Linked DNA regions of Homo sapiens: region 1 is linked to region 2. The links are contacts of gene promoters, found by promoter capture Hi-C in human tissues and cell types (Jung and others, 2019). All regions are on one chromosome and are shown on one strand. Each heading gives the region's core, a stretch centred on a gene start or on the middle of the fragment in contact. The rest is flanking DNA. Distances are from core to core; before and after follow the strand shown.

What was found. Contacts are between HindIII fragments. The study calls those that stand out against the background at their distance.
Region 1: a fragment that was not itself captured here is called in contact with the fragment with the promoter of LYAR in region 2 in 1 of the 25 tissues and cell types used here (dorsolateral prefrontal cortex).

The regions. Positions count from the first base shown.
Region 1 is chr4:6,210,089-6,215,391 of GRCh38, reverse strand. All of the region lies in intron 1 of JAKMIP1-DT (JAKMIP1 divergent transcript), which reads right to left. Among named protein-coding and RNA genes, the nearest start is that of JAKMIP1-DT, 12 kb to the right of the region's middle. The HindIII fragment of the contact is 3,673 bases long and covers 1,778-5,303 here.
Region 2 is chr4:4,287,696-4,293,058 of GRCh38, reverse strand. It overlaps LYAR (Ly1 antibody reactive), which reads left to right and starts at 2,905. Exons shown (of 10, transcript NM_017816.3): 1 at 2,905-3,023. It overlaps ZBTB49 (zinc finger and BTB domain containing 49), which reads right to left and starts at 2,808. Exons shown (of 8, transcript NM_145291.4): 1 at 2,707-2,808. RefSeq lists enhancers at 3,880-4,417, 4,418-4,956. The HindIII fragment of the contact is 5,433 bases long and covers 20-5,363 here.

The DNA.
Region 1 (5,303 bases), core at 2,365-4,864, 1.9 Mb before region 2:
AACATATAAATTTTGGGAGGACACATTCAAATCATAGCAGCCATCCTAATGGGTGTGATGTTTCAACATACGTCTTTCATTGACAGGCCAAAGAGTAAAAAAGAAAAATTGGTAAGAATAGAAAAGATTTGAACAACACAATTAATATTCTTGATTTAATGAGGACATGCAGAATCCTCTGCCTCTCACATAAAGAACGCATAATTTTAAGAATGATACCATTTACAATAGTGAAATAAAATTTACTGAAAATAAATCTATTGGCATATGTGCAAGACCTTTGCACAGAAAATTATACTTCCATATAGAAAGATGTTTAAGAAGACCTACATAAATAGGAGGATTCATAAATGAGGGAACTCAGTCTTATAAGATGTCATGCCTCTCCAAATTGTGTGATGGGTTCAATACAATTCCAATCAAAATCCCAACAGGGTTCTTTGCAAAAGTTGCCAAGCTAGTTCCAAATTTTATATAAAAGAGAAAAGAACTAAGAATAGCTTAATTGCTCTGAAGAAGATGAACAAGTTGGGGGAACTTACTGTGACAGATATCAAGACTTGCTATAAAGCTAAAGGAATTATGCCAGTGTGATATTAGCATGGAAATAGACGAATGGAATAAAATAAGCAGGCCATGCATTCATGGAAGCTTAATATATGTCACAGGTTGAATTGAAAAAGGATGGAGTTCTAAATAAGTAATGCCAGGACAACTGGTTAGGCAACTGGTTGTTGCCATGAGAGAAAAAATAAATAGACTCTCTAGGTCCCATTGTACATAAAACACAATTCCAGAAGCATTTATTCTCAAAACAAGCAGTAAAACTTAAAAACATTTAAAAGGGAATATGGGAGAATATTTTATTGCCTCAAGAAAAGGAAGCATTTCTTTAACAAAACACAAAAAGCTCACATCACAAAGGAAAATATTGACTATATTATTATCATTATTATTTTAGAGACAAAGTCTCACTCTGTTGCCAAGGCTAGAGTGCACTGGGGTGACCATAACTCATTGCAGCCTTGAACTCCTGGGCACAAGTGATCCTCCAGCCTCAGCCTCCCAGGTAGCTGGGACTACAGGCATGCACCACCACACCTGGCTACCTTTTTTATTTTATTTTTTATAGAAATGGGGTCTCATTATGTTTCCCAGGCTGGTCTCAAACCCCTGTCCTCAACTGATCTGCCTGCCTCAGCCTTCCAAAGTGCTGGGATTACAGGTGTGAGCCACTGTGACTGGCCCTACTATATTAAAGTGAACATTTCTATACACCCAAAGGAAACTATAATAATATGAAATGACAAGCCCTTAAAAGAATATATGTGCAAGGGGCCAGGCACAGTGGCTCACGCCTGTAATCTCAGAACTTTGGGAGGCTGCGGCGGGTAGATCACCTGAGGTCAGGAGTTCGAGACCAGCCTGGCCAACATGGTGAAACCCTGTCTCCACTAAAAATACAAAAATTATCTGGGCGTGGTGGTGGGCACCTGTAATCCCAGCTACGTGGGAGGCTGAGGCAGAAGAATCACTTGAACCCGGGAGGCGGAGGTTGCAGTGAGCCGAGATCATGTCATTGCACTCCAGCCTGGGCAACAAGAGCAAAACTGTCTCAAAAAAAAAAAAAAAAAAAAAAAAAAAGAACAAATGCAAAACATGTGCCTACCTTACAGTCACCAGGTTGGCAAAAATTTAACATTCAGCCAATACTATACGTTGGCAAATACGTGAAATAACTGGTTTCTTATAGATTGTTGGCTGATGCCTTTAATTGGGTGGATTGAACAACAAAAATTCACTTCTAACAGTTCTGGAGGGTGAAGTCCAAGATCGGAGCGTTAGCATGGTCAGGTTCTGGTGAGGGCCCTTGTTTTGGCTTGTAGATGGCCGCCTTCTGGCTGTATCCTCCACATGATAAAGAGAGGGATCATCTCTCTCCTGTCTCTTCTTATAAGGGCACTAATCCCATTTGTGAGGACTCCATCCGCATGACCTAATTATCTCCCAAAGACTCCATCTCCGGATACCATCAGATTAAGGATTAGAGATTCCACATATGAAGTTTAGGGGGACACAAAAACTCAGTCCTTAGTAGTTGGATAATAAATTGGCATAAACATTTTAGAAAATGTAGTATCTTGTAAAGTTGAAGATGTTCATGCCCATGACTTAGCAATTCCATCTCTATAACATATACTCCAGAATAATGTTTCTCAATCAGGGGTGACTTTGCCCTCTGGAAGGCAATGGCTGGAGACACTTTTTGTTGTCACATTTTGAGGGAAGGATGCAATTGGCATCTCTTAAGTAGAGGCCAGGGATACTGCTATGCATTGTACAATGCACAGGACAGCCCCCCTTTATAAATTATCCTGCCCAAAGGTCGATAGTTTTGCAGTTGAATATCTCTGCTCTAGAAATATCTTATGCATGTGCATCAGAAGATAAGAATGGAGGGGGTCCATAGTGGCACGGTGTAAAATGAATAAAACTGATGTCCATTCCCAGTTCAGCCGCAGATATCAAAATTGATTTTAAAACTTGATATTAATTAAAAAGTAAAATGTGGAAGAAGATGTATATACCATGTATATGAAACTGGGAAAAGATAAACACATGCTTGAAGATAATGGTTACCAAATGGGGAGAGATGTGTGGGATATGGCTAATACTCTATGTGTTAAGTTGAATGGTGGGTCCATCTATGCTTGTTTATTATTTTCTCTTCTTTGAATATAGTAAAGACTTGAAGTCATGTCCCAGATAGCACAGACATCACAATTCAACAATTAGTGATTGGATCCTGTTCTCTGACCCGCCCCTATTCTCAAAAGGGATAATCAGAACTTCTCACTATCTGGAGGGGCGGTGAATATAGACGTGACTATGATCATTCAAAGCTTTCTTGGGTCATTCCAGCACCACTTGCACATGGTATAATTCCACTGCCTTTTGTGTGTGTGTGTGTGTGTGTGTGTGTGTGTGTGTTTGTGTGTGTGTGTACACGTGCCTTTCCTTAGAGGCAGTATATGGATGCAAATGAAATCCTCTTATTGTGCTTTAGAGAACATATATGTGTTATATATATGATATTTGGCATTCTTACAACATTTCACACTAAAAACATTTTTAAAATAATAGAAAACTTCTTTACTTAAAGGTATTTTATAAGGTCATATTTGCCAGCCAAACCACTTTTAAATTTTTTTGTACTGCAAATAAGCACTGTATAATAACTGCCCGAAGGAACTAAGTTTTCTTGTACTCTCAAGAAAATCTTGGAAGCTGCATAATGAGTCTATGTGTCCTGGAGACTTTCTACCAAGAATAAAACTCAGAAGCTATTTTTAAAAAGCGAGACACATATTTAACTATGTAAAAAGTTTGTCGTTGTGTGGTAAAAGATGCCATGAAGTCAAAAGATGAATGCTGGATCTGGAAAAAGTGCTTGAACGTTGGCGACAGGCAAAGGGGTCATTGTTATGCTGAGAGCCGTAACAGCGCACAAGACAAAATGTCCCTACTAAAAGTGGGCAAGGGATAGAGAATAGACAAACCTCAAAAGTGCAAATCAAATCTAAAAGAGCAAATCATATATATATGTGTGTGTGTGTGTGTGTGTATATATATGCAATATATACATAATGTGTGTGTGTGTGTGTGTGTGTATATATATATATATATATATATATATATATATATATATATATATATAAATATATATAAAACCAGGTGCTCAAATCCACCAATGGACAGAGAAACGCAAATTAAAATAACAAGGACACATCACTTTGCACCCATCAGAGTGACAACATTTACACATGCTGCAGCGTGGGTTGAGGTTGGCAATGCAGGAAATACATTGAAGCAGAAGGGTGTGTGTTAGAGTCTTGGGAAGGTAATCTGCCTATTTTTTTTTTTTTTTTTGAGACGAAGTTTCGCTCTTGTTGCCCAGGCTGGAGTGTAATGGCGCGATCTTTGCTCACTGCAACCTCTGCCTCCCGGGTTCAAGCCATTCTCCTGCCTCAGTCTCCCAAGTAGCTGGGATTATAGGCACCCGCCACCACGCCTGGCTAATTTTTTTTTTTTTTTTTTTTGTATTTTTAGTAGAGACTGGGTTTCACCATATTGGCCAGGCTGGTCTCGAACTCCTGACCTCAGGTGATCCACCTGCCTTGACCTCCCAAAGTGCTGGGATTACAGGCATGAGCCACCACACCTGGCCCCTATTTTTATTTTATTTTTTTCAAAAAGGAGGATTTTGAATGGTCCCAACACAAAGAAATGATAAACATCTGAGATGATGGCTATGCTAATTGCCATGATCTGATCACTGCACATTATATGTATCACAAAATCACTATGTACCTCCTGAATATGGACAATTATTATTTGCTAATTTAAAAATGTAAATTAAAAAGGTTAGACCTTTTTGGCCAGGCACGGTGGCTCACACCTGTAATCCCAGCACTTTGGGAGGCCAAGGTGGGTGGGTCACTTGAGGTCAGGAGTTCAAGATCAGCCTGGCTAACATGGCGAAACCCTATCTCTACTAAAAATAGAAAAGTTAGCTGGGGGTGGTGGTGTGTGCTTGTAATCCCAGGTACTTAGGAGGCCGAGGCATGAGAATCGCCTGAACCTGCGAGGCGGAGGTTGCAGTGAGCTGAGATTGCACTCCAGCCTGGGTGACAGAGCAAGACTCTGTCTCAAACAAACAAAAAACAAACAAACAGACAGACAAAAGTTTAGACCTTCCAACCAGCCATTCCACTCCTGGGAATCCATCCCATAGAAATAAAAGTAGTCCTGCTATCTGAGGGTTTGTGTAAGAATATTTAGCGCCCATGGCTGTCGGTTGGTAATGACAAAGGGACATTAACCCATAGGAAAAGGCTCTGTGAACTGTGGGATGGCCTCAGCCTGTCAGTCTAGAGATTTCCCCAGATGCTGGCAGGAATTTGCACGAGGTGTTGATGAGTGTGAAAAGTGAGAAGCAGAAAATGTGATTATCATGAATTCGTTTTGTAAAACAATGACCCCCAACCCCCCATATGTATGTATGTATATATGAATGTAGTTATTTATTCTTATGGAGAAAAATATAAAAAATGTGAAATAAAACAAGCTAGGTTGTTAACATGAGCTATTTGGTGGGGGATATGATATGGGAGGGGGAGGAGGAAGTATCCATAATAAAAACATCATGCATAAAATAAGCGCATTCCTGGAAAATTACACACATGTATCTGCTCATGAGCAGAAGCACGAAGGGAGGGTCACCTGAGTGTTCGCGGGATTAC
Region 2 (5,363 bases), core at 1,656-4,155:
GATCTCTTTTAGAGGTTTTTTCCTAGTTCTAAAAGCTACAAATCTATACAAGGAATGTGATGGTGGAAAGATGGTATGAATGGCGTCAAAAAATGAAAATATGGGGGGAAAAGAAACAAGAAAAAGTTTAGATCAATGTGAATGAAGAAATGCTTCTAAAGAAAACAACAGCCAGAATGGAATTTCAACCTGCAGAGAGGACTCCTAGAGCAAAGGCCCCTCAATTCTACCAACAGGTCAAATACTACTGGATAGAATTTGTGGATGTTTTTTCAGCAGTGCCATTAATAGATTACTTCTCCAAGGGCCCACAGTTCACGCACCTTAAAGTCAAGCTTACCTCAGAGGGCTCCTAAGGAGTCTGCCCATCATCATACTTTCCAAATGGCTTACTTGTAGCTCCTCACCTCCACCCTACTCATAAAAGCACTGGCTTGAAGCAACAAACCTGGAATCTTGTCTTAGCTTTATGCTGACTCTTATCATACTGGGAAGGCCAATTGGGTTAAACAGATACTGTGTGCCTAACATGTGCAACAGATTGTCGCGAGGATGGAATGCTGACAAACGGAACAGATGTGTTCCCTACTCTTCACAGGCTCTGTGTCTCAGTTTTCCATCATTCACTTAACTTTACACAATGCCCATTATGCGCTAGGCACTGAAGGTACGATGGCAAACACATCAGATACGGTCATCCATGTCTTCATGAAGCATCAGTCTAGTGGGAAAAACAAGTATCGTTGCACTGTACCAGAGTTATTTTTTATTTTTTTCCGAGACGCAGTCTTGCTCAGTTGACCAGGCTGGAGTGGAGTGGTGTGCTTTCGGCTCAGTGCAACCTCCACCTCCTGGGTTCAAGCGATTCTTCTGCCTCAGCCTCCCGAGTAGCTGGGATTACAGGCATGCACCACCACACCCAGCTAATTTTTGTATTTTTAGTAAGGACGAGGGGTGGGGGTCTCACCATGTTGGCCAGGCTGGTGTCAAACTCCTGACCTCAAATGATCCACTCGCCTCAGCCTCCCAAAGTGCTGGGATTACAGGCATGCGCCACCACACCCGCCTAATTTTGGTACTCTTAGTAGAGATGGGGTTTACAGGGTTTCACCATGTTGGCCAGGCTGGTCTCTATCTCTTGACCTCAGGAGCTGCCTGCCTCGGCCTCCCAAAGCGCTGGGATTACAGGCGTGAGCCACCGCACCCAGCCCTGTACCAAAGTTATTAAATGGAGGAAGCAGAAATTAATTTGGGAGGGAGGGTCAGGGAAAACTTCCTGGAAGACACATCTATGCTGAAATGTGAGTTAAGTTTGCCAGACTAAAAAAATGAGAGGGCTCACTTTCTTTGAGTATTCAGGAGGACAAACAAACAAACAACAACAACCAAACCCAAAAACAGTACGAGAGCACAAACAAGACTGAAGTACACATATGTGCCCTGAACACAAAAAACATCTTGAGCACCCTGCTTTTAAGCCTCCTGGCCATTCTGTCACTTCTGTTGGAAAGTATTTCCCTCCTTGTCCATTTCTGTGAATTCCTTCTGTTATGGTTAAACTGTTCCCCCAGCACTCCAGAATGTGATTGTATTTGGAGATCAGGCTTGTAAGAAGGTAATTAAGTTAAAATGAGGCCATTAAGGTGGGCCCTAATACAACCTGACTGACGTTCTCATAAAGAGGAAATCTGGATGCAAAGAGAGACGCCAGAGATGTGAAAACACAGAGGAAAGACCATGCGAGGACACAGCAAGAAAGCAGCCACGTGCAAGCCAAGGAGAAATGTCTCAGAAGAAACCAAACCTGAAGACACCTTGATCTTGGACTTCTAACCTCCAGAACTGTGAGAAAATAATAAATTTCTGTTGTTTAAGCCACCCAGTATTTTGTTTGCAGTCCTAGCAAACTAATACACCTTCTATTCCAGGCCCAACACTGCTCACTTTCAGAGTGAAACCTTATCACCCATATACACACACCTTGGGAGTGAAGGTTTCTCACAATACTCTGTGCATCCTCCACTCAACTTTCATTCATTCATTTAAGCAACAAACACCTAGTGACCACCACTGTGTGCCAGACCCTGTTTTAAGGGCTGAGAAGAGCTAACGTTTATTGAGTACTTACTAAGTGGCAGCCACTAGTCTAAGCGATTTACATGCACCAACTCATGAAATACGACAAGGTTCCAGGGACGCAGGTGCCGCTATGACATTCGCTTTACAGATGCGGGGCTGAGGCACAAAGAGGCCACACCGTAATGAAACTGAGCTAGGCTGTGGGCTCTGTCGTCTTAAGCGCTACTCTCAACTACAGCGTGGAAGGAAACAGAAGCCGAGAGATGGGCAGCGCGTAGCGGAGGCGGGCCGGGCTGGCTTCCAGCGGGCAAAGCCTGGAGATGAGAGGGCGCGGGTGGGGTTTCCAGGCCGAGGAAGCTGCACCAGGGAGAAGGCCCGGCTCCCAGGCCCGGAACCTGGCCGTCTGGGTCTCAGTCCGCGTCCCCTGTGATGCCCGGCACAGAGCAAATGCTCGCTGACTCTCGCAGGAGCCGCCAACCCCCCGGGTATCCTCGAGTGCCCAGAGACGGGAAGGAGCGGTGGGTCCATGCCCTTCTGGGCCACCTTCGGGCGCCCGGCCTCCCTTCCCTTCCGGGCCATTCCCACCAGCGCCAGCCCCGCACGCCTTCGCAAGGCCGGCCACCTTACCCTCGGAGGCCGCTCTCTGCCCCGCCGCCTACTCTTCACCTGCAGCAGCTGCCTTCAAGGCCACTCGCAGCGATCCGCTGGCCGCGGAATCATCACGACAACGCCCCCTTGGCTTGCCGGAACCGCCTTCCTGCTTCCGTTGGCGTCACTTCCACTGGGGGGGGCGTGGCCGCGGTGCGCAGGCGCGCTGGGTGGTTCAGAAGCGAATTCTGCACCGCGAAGCCTGAGAGGCAGGTAGCTGCGGCGCTGGGCTGGCGGCGGCGAGTCCACGTGCTCCCCGCGGCCGGTTGAAACCGTTGGCGGGCGCTGGCTGAGAGGTGAGGGGTGGTGGCCCAGAGGTCCGACCTGGGAGGCTGGGGCTCAGAGAGTGAGTAGGGGAGGGACGGGATTTCCACCGTCAGCCCCTCTGGGTTACGCATGGAGGAAGGAGTTCCATTCAGATCTCACTCCTGCTCTGGGGAAGTGGCAGGAGTCCTGGACTTAGGGTGACCAACTCGTTTTAGTTTTAAAACTTAAGGTCCGGCGTCCTGGGAACTCCCTCGGGCCTGGCCAAACCAGGACGATTGGTCACCGCCCGACTGGGCTTCAGGCTTGCTGCATGTTGGAGACAGGGCTCTTCTCTGAGCCTTGGGAGATCAGTCCCTAAAGAGGAGGCCTTAGGATGTAGCGGTCCAGAGCACATACTTAGGATCAGAATAACTACTGCGTGTGAATCTGGGTTGCCACTACCTGGATGTGGGATGACCTGGTGTAAGTTTTTTAACCTCTTTGCGCCTCACTTTCCTCATCTGTCATAACATATAGAATCTAACTCGGAGAACTGTGATGAGGATTACATGAGTAGAAATGTGTTAACCTCCTATGAGAGGGCTTGGGTGCTCCATGAATGTTAGGATTCTCTGAAGCACCTACCTCTGAGGAGAGAGGGAGGAGGATGAGGTGGGGTCTGTATTTGCAACCCTGATTTCTAGCAGAGAGGGCCCACTTGGGACTTACTCACACTGTGCCCGAGGCTCCCAGGGTCTAGCATAGTGCCTGACACATGGTAGTTACTCGAGTGAAGGGATGGTGTTTAAAACAGTGCTGGTGATGCCGTGGGTGGGGTAGGAGGCAGAGAGAAATGGCTTCTGTGCCTCAGTTTGCTCATCTGTTTAGTGGAGATAGGTGCACCTACTTCCCAGGGCTTTTGCAAGGAACAAGGGAGAGATTCTCTCCTTGTGAATGTCACCCATTGTAACCCTTGTCAGCCTCATACACAAAGGTTTAGGCAGGATGGTGGACAGAGTATGTTTGTCTGTCCTTCTCTTGCACCATACCCATGGTTTCTCAGAATGCTACCCGTGGAAGGGGCTTGAGTCTTGTCAAGTTGGCCTGACTTCTTGTTTCACAGATGAGATAACTTGAAGTTTATAGAGGCAGTGGCATGCTCAGGGTCACAGTGTTCAGTGGGGGATATCCTGGGGTTGCCAGCTAGGCCCCTCAGGTGGGCTGTTTGAGTGGTAGTGGTGGTAATGATGTGTAGGTCAGTGTCTGCATGTGCATGCAAGAATATTTTAAGAATAGTCAAGGCCAAGCGCAGTGGCCCGTGCCTGTCATCCGAGCACTTTGGGAGGCCGAGGAGGGTGGATCACCTGAGGTCAAGAGTTCACAACCAGCCTGGCCAACATGGTGAAACTCCGTCTCTACTAAAAATACAAAAATTAGCCGGGCATGGTGGCATGTGCCTGTAATCCCAGCTACTGGGGAGGCTGAGGCCGGAGAATCACTTGAACCTGGGAGGCAAAGGCTGCAGTGAGCCGAGATTGCGCCATTGTACTCCAGCCTGGGCAACAGAATGAGACTCCGTCTCAAAAAAAAAAAAAAAAAGAAAAAAAATTGAATAAGTAATACAAAAATATAGAGGGAAGAAGATTTAAAAAAAATCATTCCAATCTCAGAACCAAACCTAAGGGCATGTTATCAGGGAACTTGGTAAAGTAGGCAGCCATGGGGTGAGGAGCCAGAGAAGGTTGGAGTGAATTTATGAACATAAATGGGTGGGTTGATGGTCATATTTAAAGGAGCATGGGTTTAGGAGGGGGCTGGGTATAATAGCATTGATGTGCAAATTAGTAGGTCACAGAGAAACCTTTCTACAATTGGGCAGGGATGAAGCTTTCATATCTGGTGTCTTATTTAACTTTCCACCCAATGCTTTGAGTTAGGTATTAGATCCATTTTACAGATAAACAGATTCTGGGAAGTTAAGGTGCTTTGAGGTCATTTAGTTTTTAATGACTTTTTTGACATTAGCAGATGTAGGCTCCAGCTCAGATCCTCTACACCTGAGTCAGGGCCCTGTCCAACAAAAGCTGGCAACCATCTTGTTAAGAGAAGACTAACAAGTTCCCAGCCCCTTAGTGACCACTGGCTGCTGCCCCTCAGCTAGCTTTGCTGTCCAGACCCTGACAGCCTCTCCTGTGACATGGGTGGTCTCCTTGCCCACTGCACAGAGGTTTTATAATTAAGACTTAGGGTTCTAATATTTATACATGGAAAGTCATCTTATAGAGACCTTAATTTTTTTTCTCTTTGGATGAGGACCTCAAGGTCCCAGGTGCTGAGTAACCACCAAGCAAACGGCTAGGACATGGCAGGTCAAGATGGAGGCAGGGTGG